Regions from separate parts of the Homo sapiens genome. Here region 1 is linked to region 2. The links are contacts of gene promoters, found by promoter capture Hi-C in blood cells and fetal thymus (Javierre and others, 2016). All regions are on one chromosome and are shown on one strand. Each heading gives the region's core, a stretch centred on a gene start or on the middle of the fragment in contact. The rest is flanking DNA. Distances are from core to core; before and after follow the strand shown. Region 1 has its middle 100 kb from the start of FMR1-AS1. Region 2 holds the start of SLITRK2 (SLIT and NTRK like family member 2).

Region 1 (7,018 bases), core at 426-2,925, 2.0 Mb before region 2:
ATTTCTTATCCTTGAATATGCTGTGGATTTCCAGAAGATAGAGATGAGTTTTCTGGCTCAATCTGATTAATTTTTCTCTTAGCATCATGTGAAATGTGCACTTAATAAGCAAAAATGCCTTTGATGATGATTTAACACCATCTACTGGTCTTTGATCTGAATACATCAGTCTTTAAAATTTATGGTGATTTATAAGTGGTACAACTATAGCCTGCATTCTCATGATCTCAACCAAACTGGTGTGACTTTCAGGCAGTAACTGACAGATGTCTTTCATCATATTGAGAACTTAGAAGGAGTGCACTGAGTCAAACATAATCACAATGTAACAAAGCAAAATATATGTGCCTTCAGGATGGCAGTGACAACATGCTCTTTCAAAGGAAGCAGGGGTTGCACCTGGACGAGGGGTTAAGCAGAGACTTCATGAAAAAATTTTGACATGATAAAATCATTTGTGGTTTAGCTGGGGTTCTCTTGGCTGAAGTGTGGAAGGTGAATCAGAAAAGGACAAGAATTAAAACAGAGATACCAATGAGATAGAAAAAAAATTAAAACGCAACCCCTGATATCTAGAAACTGGCTTAGCACTCACAGCTAGGCCATGTTATTCTCCTGTTGGACATTTTAAAACCCCACAGAACCCCAACACCCCACACAGTTACTCTGAGGCCATGATATAGTGAAACAAAACAAGACCACTTCATATTTTGTCTCAGCACAGACAAAACCAAGGTCACTCTGCCCCCCACAATATATCAAATATCTTCCTCTCTCTGCTGAAATGAGTGATTGTTACTTCTTTACCAATTACAGATTTATCACTGCTCTAGTATGTCCTCCATATAGATAAGATTTATTGAGATACCCAATGATAAAATTGCTCCCATTTCTTGATAGTATCCAATCCAAGGTGAGGTCTTGCTCCTTAGACCAACTAAAGCCCAAATCTTATAACTGGTTCTTTTAACTTCTTCTTACTAAGATAACCTATGCTTCTCCACGGTGTGTGCTCTCCCTCACTGCAATGAGTAATAAACCCAACTTGTTTAACTATAGATGCGTTTCTGGAGTCCTTGGCTAGAGGTTATTGACGCTAACAAGGGGACAGTAGCAGTACATGTAAGCAATGGCGAGGGCATGAAATAAACAGTGGTACCAGGGATTGAGAAGAGTGTGCAGATTGTGGAATAATTTCAAAGGCAAAATCACTAGTACTTGACTAGTTAGAGTTGGAAGTTGAAAGAATGGGACGGTCCTAGGCAAAGACTTAGTCTGTACTGTGAGTATGTAGGTGAATAGTGACGGTATTCATGAAAATTGGGAAAACAAAGAGGGGACCTTTTAGGGGGAATATTATGAATATTTGTAATGAGAGTGCCTGTGAGACATCCAGGTAGAGAGGTCCAGCAGACAGTTGGGCAAATGGGTTTGAAGATAGGAAAGGTCTGACCTAGTAGTTAAATGCAAAAGAGGGGATGAGATCATCCTGAAAATATGTGGAAAGTGAGAAGAGCATTTGGCTAAGAGTTAAACCTTGAGATTTATCAACATTTAAGGAGTAGGCAGAGGAAAAGGAGATTTTAAAAAAGAGAACCAGCAGAGATGCGTGTCATGAAAGCAAGGGAGTTAAGGGTTTTAAAAAGTGGGAAGCCATGAACAGCATCAAATGCAGTTGAGAGATCAAGTCTGTTAGGTTTGGAAATTATGAAATCATTGGTGAACAGAGGGAGGAAGAGCAGTTTAAGAGGAAGAGTGAGTATATACGCAGACAGGAGTGGGTTGGGGAATAAATGAAAAGTGAAGACTTGGAGGCAGTGAGTGTGAAGAACTCTTGAGATTTCAAAGAAAAGCAGGTCAGGTGGAAGCTAGATACAGATGTGGAGTCAACAGGTGAAAAAGAATGAGATTAAAATACCACTAGAAAGTCTGTTTTGTTCACTGATACATCATTGGTGACTACAAGCATGCCTAGCACATATTTAGGTATTCAACAAATATGGGTTGAACAAATGAATGATGGGATAATTGGCAGGGAAATTTCTAGAAGATGTAGAAGGGGTTAAAGTCAAGGGACTAAATAGTAAGGCTGTTGTTAACCAGAGGAGTTTTGTGTCTTCTTCTGTAGTGAATTCAGAGACACCATCCCATTTGTATTAGTCCATTCTCACCTTACTATAAATAACTGCCCGAGACTGGGTAATTTAAAAGGAAAGAGGTTTCATTGACTCACAGTTCTGCCTGGCTGAGGAAGCCTCAGGAAACTTACAATCATGGTGGAAGGGGAAGCAACATGTTTTTCTTCACAAGGCAGCAGGGGAGAGAAGTGCAGAGCAAAGGGGGAAGAGTCCCTTACAAAGCCATCAGATCTCATGAGAACTCATACACTATCATGAGAACCACCCCCATGATCCAGTCACCTCCCACCAGGTCCCTCCCCCAACATGTGAGGATTACAATTAGGGTTACAATTCAAGATGAGATTTTGGTGGGGCCGCAGAGCCAGACCATATCACCGTTTAATCTTAGTGTATTTAACTAGAACCGCTTGACATTTTCTGTTATCATATTCACTTTCCATGTAGCTCAAAACTTTGAATAATATTATCACCATAGATTTCTTTTGGTAATAGTAAAAAAAAAACATTATCATTTAGAGAAAGTTTGGGAATTTATGTATTTCGAATTGTAATAAACATCTTTATTGTTTCCCTTGTGCAACATTTTCTACTTATAATACTGTTCTGATTTTGTAATTGAGTTTAATTAAGAACTTTATGACAATCTGCATTTGCCACTAATCAACTGGGTTGTCCCAGAGTGTACTGCTTTCCCCATTACTGGAGTGTTGCTCATGAGGAAGCAAGCTGACCCCAAGTTTGGGATAAAGTAGTTGGAATCCAGTCACCATATGAGTTGAATCAGATAACTTCTAAAGGTCCATTGTAAAGATCTTTAGAGCTTCTAAGATTTTGCTGCTTTGTTGCCAAATTTTAAAATCAATTAATCAATTGTGTTCCCAATGTTGTCATCTCATATTTTAGGCTGTTTGAATCAAAACTTTTGATATTGGAAAACAAATTTTAGACTTTGGCAACCATGTTTTATGCAAGGAAGTTTATATTTTGACAAGTAATATAAATAGATTTTTTCTAAAAATGGGGGGAGAGAGAGAGATGGAGAGACAGAGAGAGACACCACTATTAAACTCCATTTGCTTTTTACTGAAAATTGGGATTCCATCTCTCCACTAATACTCAGAAGCTCCAGACTGATTAGGGATTTTTTTTTTGTTAACAAATAGTCAATGTCAGGAAGATATACATATATGTATTCCAGTGGAGCATAAAACTGTGGCTGTTCTCTAGAGGCAACTGAAGATTTATTGTTTTGGGAGCCTGCTTTGTCAATTCCACTAGATAGTGTTACCAATGCAAACTGACTGGCTTTCCAGAAAAGTCTGTTGTCTGCTAGTTGCCAGGTGTCTAGTGATGAGAACAGCATGCGGCCAATGTGGCAGAAAAATAAAGTGCACGCATGGCCAAGGGAAGGTGGTAAGAAGGGCTACACTGTGGAGACCCTCCTTCTCCCAAATCTGGCTGTCTCCATCTGGTCCTAGCTCAAAACACAGTCGTTTCCAAAAGCCATAATCTTGGTCCCTGGATAAACTACATAGGAAGGACTTAATGTAAAATCAGGGGTCTTGTGATGTGATCTGTGTCTCAGGAAGTCAGTGTGATGGGGCTTTAGCAGCCTAGTGCTCTCCTTAGCATAGACCAGACCCCATAGCGACTTAACTCCTAACACCTTTTCCTCTTTAGCATTCTGATACCTTGTGGCTCTTGCTGTAGCATGCAATCATGTCGGATAAATACTGTTTATTAAGTGCCTATACACAGGACTATAAACTATCCCCCTAACTGTGCAAAGCTGGTATCATTGCTGCCATTTTACAGATAATAAACTGATGCTCAGGTTAAGTGACTTGTCCAAAGCTATACAGGTGTTAAATAGATGATCTAAGATTTCAGTCCTGGTTTTTTGGGCTCCAAAGTTAGTTTTTCACTACCTTATTTGTTCATGAATTAATTAATGATGGTCCTAACATACATTTTTTCATTTAAATCATCACATTTGGTTTTCTTCATTGGTTAAATTGGCTAGATAATTGTCTAATACGGTGTAAATGTACTTACTGAGTATGAGATAGATATATACACACTTACTTGAAGTATAAAGTTTCATAGTAAAGATGTCTTTTTAAATTAATCATAAGTTTTTGTGACTCCTTGAATTTTAAGCTTGTGATAAGATAGAATTAACATTTGTGTTGTCTGGTTAGTCTGAGGGTGTCAGGTTTTCAGCAACTCAGAAATCCTGAACTCAAACTCCTGAACTTTCTTTTCCTCCCTGTCATCTCCTTCTCTCCAAGGCTGCTTCATATGGTGCAGACTGGAGACCAAACGACTCTGGGGAGTGCCACTAACATGGTAGACTATGTGACTGGCAACTGCTCTCCTTTCTCCTCTGCCTCTATTTTTGGATACACTTGTTTTGTTTAGGGTGTGATTGTGTGTGTGTGCACATGCAAAAGAGAAAATCATCTGACAGGAAAAATAATTAATGGAGAAGTGGTGATGGTTACAGCATTAATTAGGAATTGTTCTGTCAAGTAATGCAGAAAGAATGGCACCTGAAAGTTTAAACTCTGACACTAAATCTACCTCAGAACTAGAAACCAGCAAAGTGGCAAAACAAATTATGAATTCTCTTGGATATTCTGTTCCTGAAAACCCAGACAGATATATCCAGTCAGGTCAGAAGCTTATTTCTAGTGTTGAATGACATGTTTTGGAATTTTAACTGTGCAAAAGAGAGGGAAAGAAACAAAAGCTGACTAAAGAGTTCTCTTTGACCTAAATTACAAAAAGATTCTAGTAACAGATGGCTTCCTGGTCCAAAAGTAAGACAGAATCTAAAAGGTTATCAACTGTACACCTAACTACTTGCCACCATTGTAGTTTTTGCAGTGGAGTAATTGAATACTCTAAAACTATAAAGTTCCTTTCTCCCCTCCTCTCCTCTCCTTTCCTTTCCTTTCCTAGAAAATATCTGCAAGTAACTTGCAGTTATAATATTGTCTGTCCAAAAGAGAGAGGGCAATGAATGGTAAAGACCAAGTGAAAGGAGCTGAATGCAGAGCAAATGACATTACTGAAAATCTTAGATCATGTGAAAGAAGGAAATTATGCTGTTTTTGATGAGACAGTTTTTCTTTGTATATTGAGTATATGAGTGTCAATACACCAAAGACTTTCATTTTTAATTTCTCCCTCTAAGAGCTTGTATTAGTTCGTTAGGGCTTCCATAAAACATACCCCGAACATTTAGGTCATAACAGAGTCTTGTAGATTTCTTAGATTTGAATATATATTTCAAACATGAAAGATATTTGAAGAAAAGAAATATTGCATTTGGAATTAAAATCACATTTCTATATCATTTTTGGAAAGTCATCTATACTGAGCATATGAGGGTAGGCCCACTCCTGACAGTTGTAGAATCTGGGAAAAGGGTTAAATGAAAGCCTATGAATCATTTTATCTAAATATTTAAAAGTTCTGAATCATGCTAACAGAGTACTAAATAAAATACAGTAGTCCCTTGGTATCCATGGGGATTGTTTCCAGGACTCCTGCAGGTACCAAAATCCGTGGATGCTCAAATCCCTGATATAAAATGGTGTAATGTTTGCATATAACCTACACGCATCCTCCTGTATACTTTAAAGCATCTCTTCATTACTTATAATGCCTAATACAGTGTGAATGTTATGTAAAGAGTTGTTATACTGTATTGTTTAAGGAATAATGAAAAGGAGAAAAACGTCTGTAAATGTTCACTACAGAAGCAACCATCCATTTTTTTAAATATTTTTAATCCGTGGTTAGTTGGAGCCATGGATGTGGAACTTGAGGATGTGGAGGGCTGACTGTATGTTCTATCTATTTGCCTTGACAAATATACCTTCATAGCAGTCTTGATGGGCAGGATTCAATTTAGAACTCTCAGACTGCTCAGAGCTCTGGGTCAGAAGATGATAGCACATTTCTCTTCCCACCCTAGCTCAGCCCACCTCATGAGGGATCTCATGCAGAATCATTTGGATCCCCCAGGTGATGTATTCAAGTCCTTTCCAAGTGGCGATGCCTTGGTGGCCCCTCAGCTCTAGGGATGCACATGTCTTGGTGTGATAGGCTCCAGGAGAACAACCTTCAAGAAGAGGCCTGAGCAGGCCTTGGAAGCAGACCGAGGCAATTTAGGAAGGGAGTTCTTGGGTCCTGGGTGCCCAAACTGACAGTTGAAAGGGTTGATCATGGGCTCCAAGGAGGCACATTCCTCTTAACTCTGAGAACTCTTTACCCTTTGAGAGAAAGGGCATAGCCAGAGGATGGCTAGAGCAGAATTTGTTGCGTAAACCAGGGTGGTGTAGCTAGCAAGGCAGTGTGAAAACAAGGCCAGAGCTCTGTTACTAATCAACTATAAGACTCTAGGTCTTTCCCCATCTGGGTCCTTTAAGATGGTTTTAGGGCATTCCAGTTAAGTGGCATGCAATGGCCAACTAGGTAGGAACCACATTTTCGTCATTCTGTGATGAAGAAACAAAATGCAATCAAGTGAGAACAAATGGGTCCCGAAAAGGTCTGCCAGCAGTAAGGCACCCTGACAGGTAGCTGGGCATTGGTCCTGCTGGGACCTGGGTGTGTAGCAAGAGGAGCCCCAGTTGTCTTCAGGGTCTCCTATGAGACTAGAGTAATCTCTGACTTTAACCAAATAGACCCATTGGAAGTTATCCCAGGTGGGGTTGTGTTGTCATCCAAGAAGTGAGACATGAATGCGGTAGGAAAAAGGAGAGAGCACCAGAAAGAAAGAATTTGTTAGGGTGACTCAAGCCAGTCCTGGCCAAGGGAGACAAACACTGTGTCCTGCACACAACTCTGCTTCTTCCAAGGTGTAT
Region 2 (6,251 bases), core at 2,793-5,292:
CTGAATCCCTCTCCTCTGCAGTCCACCAGGAGTTTAGCATCTTCAGGAAGTGGGAGAACAAGGTAAAATAAGACGCTGCTTCCAGGGGGGATGCCCTGCTTTTTGTTGGTTGATTTAATTTGACTGGGGGTGCGCAGAAATTAAAAATCCGACAGGAGGCAGGAGCGGAAGAGAAGAGTTGGAGCTGAGGGAAGCCGAGCTGCCAGGGAGGGACTGGGGTGCGATTCTGTAGGGAGGTCGGAGAGCCGGCTGGCCCGGTCGGCGGGCGAAGGCGACGACGGAGCCTGGGCGCGCGTTTCCAATTCGGTGGCGGTGGCAGCAGTGCGTCTAGCAGTTTGAATCTGAGAGGCTTTGCAGGCTCCCCGGGACAGGACTAGGGTGACGTCACGGGGGAGGGGGCAGGCAGAGGATCCAGGGCGCGCGGTGGGGGAGGGTTGGGCAGATGCTTCCCTTCCTTGCAAGTGGCTTTGCAAAGCTCAATTCCCGGCTGCGTCAGTTGATTCTGAACTACTCCACCTCCAACCTGGCTGGCGGCAGGAGAAGCTCCTGCAGAGGGGTTTCTCAAGGAGGGGCCCTGCTAATGGCCTGGCACCTCCTTGGGCCCCTCTGTGTGTTCTCTCTCACTCCTCCCTCTTTCTCTCACCTACACAATGCCTATGGAGGGCAGGGGTGGGGGTGGGGGGTTCTTCTCCCAGATTCCCAAGCAAGGGAGAAGCGTGTGTGTGTGTGTGTGTGTGTGTGTGTGAGTGAGAGAGAGAGAGAGAGAGAGTGTGTGTGTGTGTGTGTGTGTGTGTGTGTGGTGTGCCTCTTTGCTACAGGACTGGTGCCCCACTTGCCAGCTCCTAGCTCAGATGCTCTCTGTGCAGAGAGTGGGGTGTGTGTGCATGCACCAATGTGTCTGTGTAGGAGGGTGAGGAGTTCTCTTAGGGGATTTATACTTTACATACAGAGCCCTGATTCAGTGCTAAGAGAATTCCTTTCTGGGTGGTGACCCACCAAACATATTTGCCTGGACTCTGAAAGTCAGCTCAATGTTAGCTTATAGACTGAGAAAAACAAAAACAAACCCCTTTTCTCCCTGAGGTTTATACTTAGCCAGATAATGAGGTTTAAACGTGCACTTCTTGCCTGGAGGAAGGAGAAAAGAAGTGGGTGTCAGAAAAGCACTGCCAGGCTGAGCCTCAGCTGGGAGTGGGAGCCAAAGGAAGGGTGGTTGAGCCCTCCAGGCTGCAGGGGCAGGGGAGCTAGGAGAAAAGAGGAAGCTGGTGCAGGAAGACTGGCTCCTGAGAAAGAGAGGAGATGGAAAAGGAATCCTGGCCTGAGACCGAGCTTACCTGGGTTCTGATCTGGCTCTGTTGCTAGATGTGCCACTAGCTTCTGGATCTTCCTGTGTCCATCTGCAAAAGGCAGGTAGGTAGACTGTATGGGCCCTCCCAGCTCTGATATCCAATGCGGGTTTAAATAGCCTTTCCAGAGCATTGCTAATGGCCAGGTGTTGGATTTTTGCCTTCATTATCTGTTTTCTCCTTAATTATCTTACAGCTCCTTGGACCCAAGAGTCTTCCATTGTGGAATCAATTCGCAAGGGGTAAATAATGTCTGCTGTTGCCTGGAAAGGCCTTGGTTGCCTCTGGTAGGAAGGGGGAGATGGGTCAGGAAAAGGAGGGAATCAACCAGGGAAAAGGAGTTGACCAAATGATGTGCCTGTCCCACAAAACACTTCAGCTTGCTTTCCCGGAGTCCCACTGCCTGGCCAAATGTGGAATAGATAAACACACAGATACAACAAACCACTTGAGAACAGAATGACCCTTGCTTCTCCCCTTCTCCTTCCTTGTTAAGCCTAGGTTCTAGGATTGTTCCCTTTATACAAGCTCCTTTCTCTCCGGGAAGGGCGGGGGTAGTTTATAAACTTAGGCACTAGGGCCACCTGTAGCTGGTGATCTGTGCATTATTTTCTTGAGCTTTCTCCCTTTCTCCTTCTTCTTCTTCTAAGAGCCTTGGACCAGGCATCAGAAGCCCCCTTACCCTCTAATTCTTGCTTGGCGTTTAGCAAAATACTTTCCTTCTGGAGACTCAAATTTTCCTTCTCCATAGAGAAGGGCAAACTTGAGATGAGCTCTGAGGCAGAGGGACAGCCCTGTGGATGGCCTCCCACCCTGTATTGCAATTGCATCATTAGATGGAAGCAGTCTGATGCAGTGGGAGCACAATTAAGCTCCCTTTCCTAGCAAAGGAGGCATTTGTTTCTATGTATTTCCAAAGGTTAAAAGCACATAGTTCCTAGAGCAATAAGATTTATTCATTCAGTCATTCATTCAACAAACATGTATTATGTCAATATTTAACTGAAGTAAAGACGTGAGAGCCGAACAAGACCTTAGAAGTCAGGTTCATTTTACAGATGAGGTCATTTCTTAACCAGGGAAAGTGCTGACTTACTCAAGAAACTACAAATAGAAACAAAACCCAGGGATTATGAGTCCCAGTCCATCATCTTTCCAAAAAGCACACTACTGCTTAATATGAATTAAAAATCTACTTAAACGTAAATAGCAGTGGTAGTGTTTTACTTAAAGGTATCCTTTTTATTAAAAAAAAATGTATTTGAAAGTGAAACATCAAATACTAGTTTCGGTTCTCAGATACAGTAATTTCCTTCAAGACATTGATGACGCTTTCAATATTCCTTGAGGACAGATTATTTTTGCGAAGAATTTCAGAGACAGGAGAGAGATTCAGAGAGAAAGGTGGAGGTGGTTGGGGGCTCATGAGATTCTTGAGACCTACAGAATCAAGGAAATTCATGGGTAATCTAACTGTGGGAAGCGACACTCGGACCCTAAGGAGGTCTTCGTTCCTGCCTGTCCTTGAGAGTCCACAGCTGCTTTCCAAAACGTAGTTACTAGGAACAAATCAGCCTGAAACGCGATAACCACTTTAAGTAAGTTTCATTTGGCCCCGTGTCTTCTGAAGAACTGCCGCAGCACTCCGCTAGGGAGAGCGGGCTTTTAAGGCTGTGGAAAGGTTCAGGGTGAACTGGGACCCCAAGGGAGGGAAAGGCGGTCATTAAAATAAGGAAAACGCTCCCTCTCCTTGCTGAGGCAAGGGAGGCTTAAAGACGAACTCCGTCGCCTGTCTCACTCGCATCTAACCGAGTAGAGCCTGGCTCAGGTCTCCAAGCCTTCCACAGGACACGGTGGGTGCCGGCGGGCTTACAGCCCACCTCCGTCCCGGCCGCCCATCAGGCCACGAGGGGGCTAAGAGGAGTCCGGGGAACCAGAGAGGGGGCACTGCTTGCCCGCAGCCTCTTCTTCTAAACACCCGCCGCCCGCAAGCCGGGTCGAATCCCATTTCCGAAGGGCGCTTCCGGGAGACCAGGTGTCTCCGAGCGTCCCCGATCGCCGGTAACTGGGCACCGGCCGCCAGCGCAGCCCTACCTTCCCTGCCCCTACCTGCTAGACGCCTGGTGCGGTGCCCGGCATGCGGACCTACAGCCGCGACGGCCACTCGGGCTGCCCTCGCCATGGGACTTGGGCACTGCAGGCCGACCGGAGGCTTCTAGCTCGCGCCGGGTGCGTGGGCCCTCCCTGGCCGCCTGTGCCACCCCGCTGCGCGAGGCGCGGAGCCCGACCACGCCCGCGCGGACGGTCCCGGGGTGAGGAATCTCCAGTGGGGATTGAGGGTAGAGGGCGGCCGCCAGCGAGCTGCCCTCCGCGGATGGCGCCCAGCCTCCCCACGCTGGTGCCCCTCGCAAGGAGAGGTGGCCGGGAAAGGCAACGGACTGAGGAAAGCCGGCTCACTGGCCGCGTCGCCACCGCGTCCCTGAGTGCTCAGAACTTACCGAGCGAGCGCGCCGCCCAGATCTTTTCCCGGAGGCGCCCGCAGCATCTGCGACTCGGGGAGGCAAAGGAGCCGGCACCGCCTCGGACTGGCGCAGCCCAGGAGCGAGAGCACCGCGGGGAGCGCGGGCGGCGCCCCCAGGGCAGGCAGATCCCCACCGAGCAGCTAGCCAACGGGCAACGCTTCTTGCAGGAAGGAGGGAGGGAGGCGAGAGGGAGGAGGGAAGTAAAGCGGGAGGGAGGAGAGGGGAAGAAGGGAGGGAGGAGGGAGGAGGGAGGGAGGAGGGAGGAGGGAGTGAGGAGGGAGGAGGGAGGGAGGAGGGAGGGAGGGATCGCGTCCCCCCTCTCCCTCACTTATCAATCACCCCACAGATCAAATATCCGGGCTGTGCACCCAGGACGGGGATGTAAGAGCCCACAAAGGAGCCGCTGCTCCATTTCTCTGACAAGCGCTGCGGAGCACTGCTCACGCCTCTCGGTCCCTCTTGCCTGGAACTCTGCCCAGCCCTTGCGGCTTCCACCCTGGGCTGCAGCTCGGGCTCGGTCAAGTGAAATAAGAATGGCACACGGTCGGTACCATGTCCAAGGGGAGACTAAGACTACTGGGTGGAAGTTAACGACAAGTGAAAGAGCAGTCAGCCATCCGAGCTGGACACCCTCCGGGACAGCTGCCTCCCCTAACTAGTAAGCGCCCAGTCTTTGGGAGTTCGCAGGCAGATATTTAAGAACCTCCTACGAGGATCGTAAACAAGGACTTTCAACATAAGATAGAGCTGAACTTGAGTTGTGCAAGTGTGTTAACAAAGCAAGCCCTTAGCAGCGTTCCAGTGCCCATTTTGATTCCCTTTATTCTTCACGACGACGTTGCCTGGATCTTCTAGAGCGTGATTTTTGCCATCCTCCCTTCCCTTTTCTCCTTTCTTCTTCCTCTTATTAGTAGTCCAGGTGGTTGTGATTCTATTAAAGGAAGGCGCTCTGTGAAAAGAGTCAGTGTAGTTCAAGAGGGAGGTGCGGTTTTTGCCAAGAGCATTGCGTTTCCCCTCAAGACTTGCTTTCTCTAGGGCCTCTCCTCTACTCTTCCAGAGTATTCGAGATAAAGTTGCAGTTTGATAAATTTATGCCAGGAGTAGGGAGTTCATTTGATGACACTAAGTCATTTTCCCCTCCATCCTGTAGGAGAACGTCATTAATTCAAGTCGTTGCCACCCCCTATCCTTTTCATGCCCGCTAGAGTCTGCAAAACCCCAAATCCTTCTTACTGTCGAAAAGCGTGATGGTGGAGAGCAGACGGGGAGGCGAGGAGAGAGGTGCAAAATTAGACGCAAAATTACCTCTCCAGCTAGTGGATCTGCATTGGAATTTGTCTGTTTCCATATTTCCCATGCCTTTCAACTCGTTCTCACAGCACTGACAACCACCTTTTTCTTGTCCTTCCCGTGGGAATCTTTTGTGCTTCTCCTGTCCTCTCTTCTTGGCTTTCTTTCATAATGGTTTTCTAAGGAGATTATGCTGGGCTTTTTAAAAAGAAAACTACTGGCAATCTTATATTATGAAGATGTACAGAGTTTGCTTTAATAATAGTCGGAAGAATTATAATCGTATCTTCGGAGTTGTAAGGGTCATTACTGTTCCTTTTATTTCATTCTTGAGAAAGCCTTTTTGAAATCTTCCTACCATTCAGATAAGCAACTTCGGAATAACATAGTTCTCACATAAGCACGTGGGCAGTGTATGTACGGTTATATATCCAGAAGCATTGCTCTTCTTTTTACAATATCTGTATTAGTGTAAACATCCAATGTGCTGTTTGCTACAGACTAAAAGCAGTGCACTGAGCACATCATATTATTAACTAAATGAGGTCAGTTAATACTGTTACTTCTGTCTTTACCGTATTTCTGACTGTGTCATCTTTTCATGTCGCTTTTAGTAGATGTTATAAACAACTGCAAAACACAGAGCTAAGAGGCCATTCCAATACAGAAATAATGAGACAGTCATGCTGAAAAACTCAGACAGTTTACTAAGAAGGGTGATGTGTCTGTAGCCAAAGGGAACATACAAAATAAGCAAAAACTTCTATACAGAGTAGAGAAGGAACATGGCATTAATGATGAAAAGTGATACTTTATTTAGATCCAGTAGTAACATGTAATAGATGGCATGCATCAATTTTAATTAGCCTTGTAAGCAAGTCTAACCTGTTCACCAGCCTTCGAAAAGCATTTAGCAGCCTGCCTTTCCACATGGGACCACACTGATAGTAAGACAAAATTAAAAAGAGCAGACTTTTCTTTTTGTCAGCATAAAATTTTCAAGTAGGTGGATAGCTGTGCTTTGAATGCACAGACACGAAAATTGATGAGCAATATAAAACTTTCTGAGAGGGTTTTGCATAGACAGTTATAA

Evidence for each region. Contacts are between HindIII fragments. The CHiCAGO score rates a contact against its expected background, and 5 or more counts as called.
Region 1: a fragment that was not itself captured here is called in contact with the fragment with the promoter of SLITRK2 in region 2 in 1 of 17 cell types (M0 macrophages); the score reaches 6.3 in M0 macrophages.

Annotation. Positions count from the first base shown.
Region 1 is chrX:147,805,351-147,812,368 of GRCh38, reverse strand. No RefSeq gene overlaps it. Among named protein-coding and RNA genes, the nearest start is that of FMR1-AS1, 100 kb to the left of the region's middle. The HindIII fragment of the contact is 5,256 bases long and covers 1-4,303 here.
Region 2 is chrX:145,815,620-145,821,870 of GRCh38, reverse strand. SLITRK2 (SLIT and NTRK like family member 2) reads right to left here and starts at 4,042. Exons shown (of 5, transcript NM_032539.5): 1 at 3,845-4,042; 2 at 1,335-1,397; 3 at 1-523. The HindIII fragment of the contact is 7,249 bases long and covers 1-6,251 here.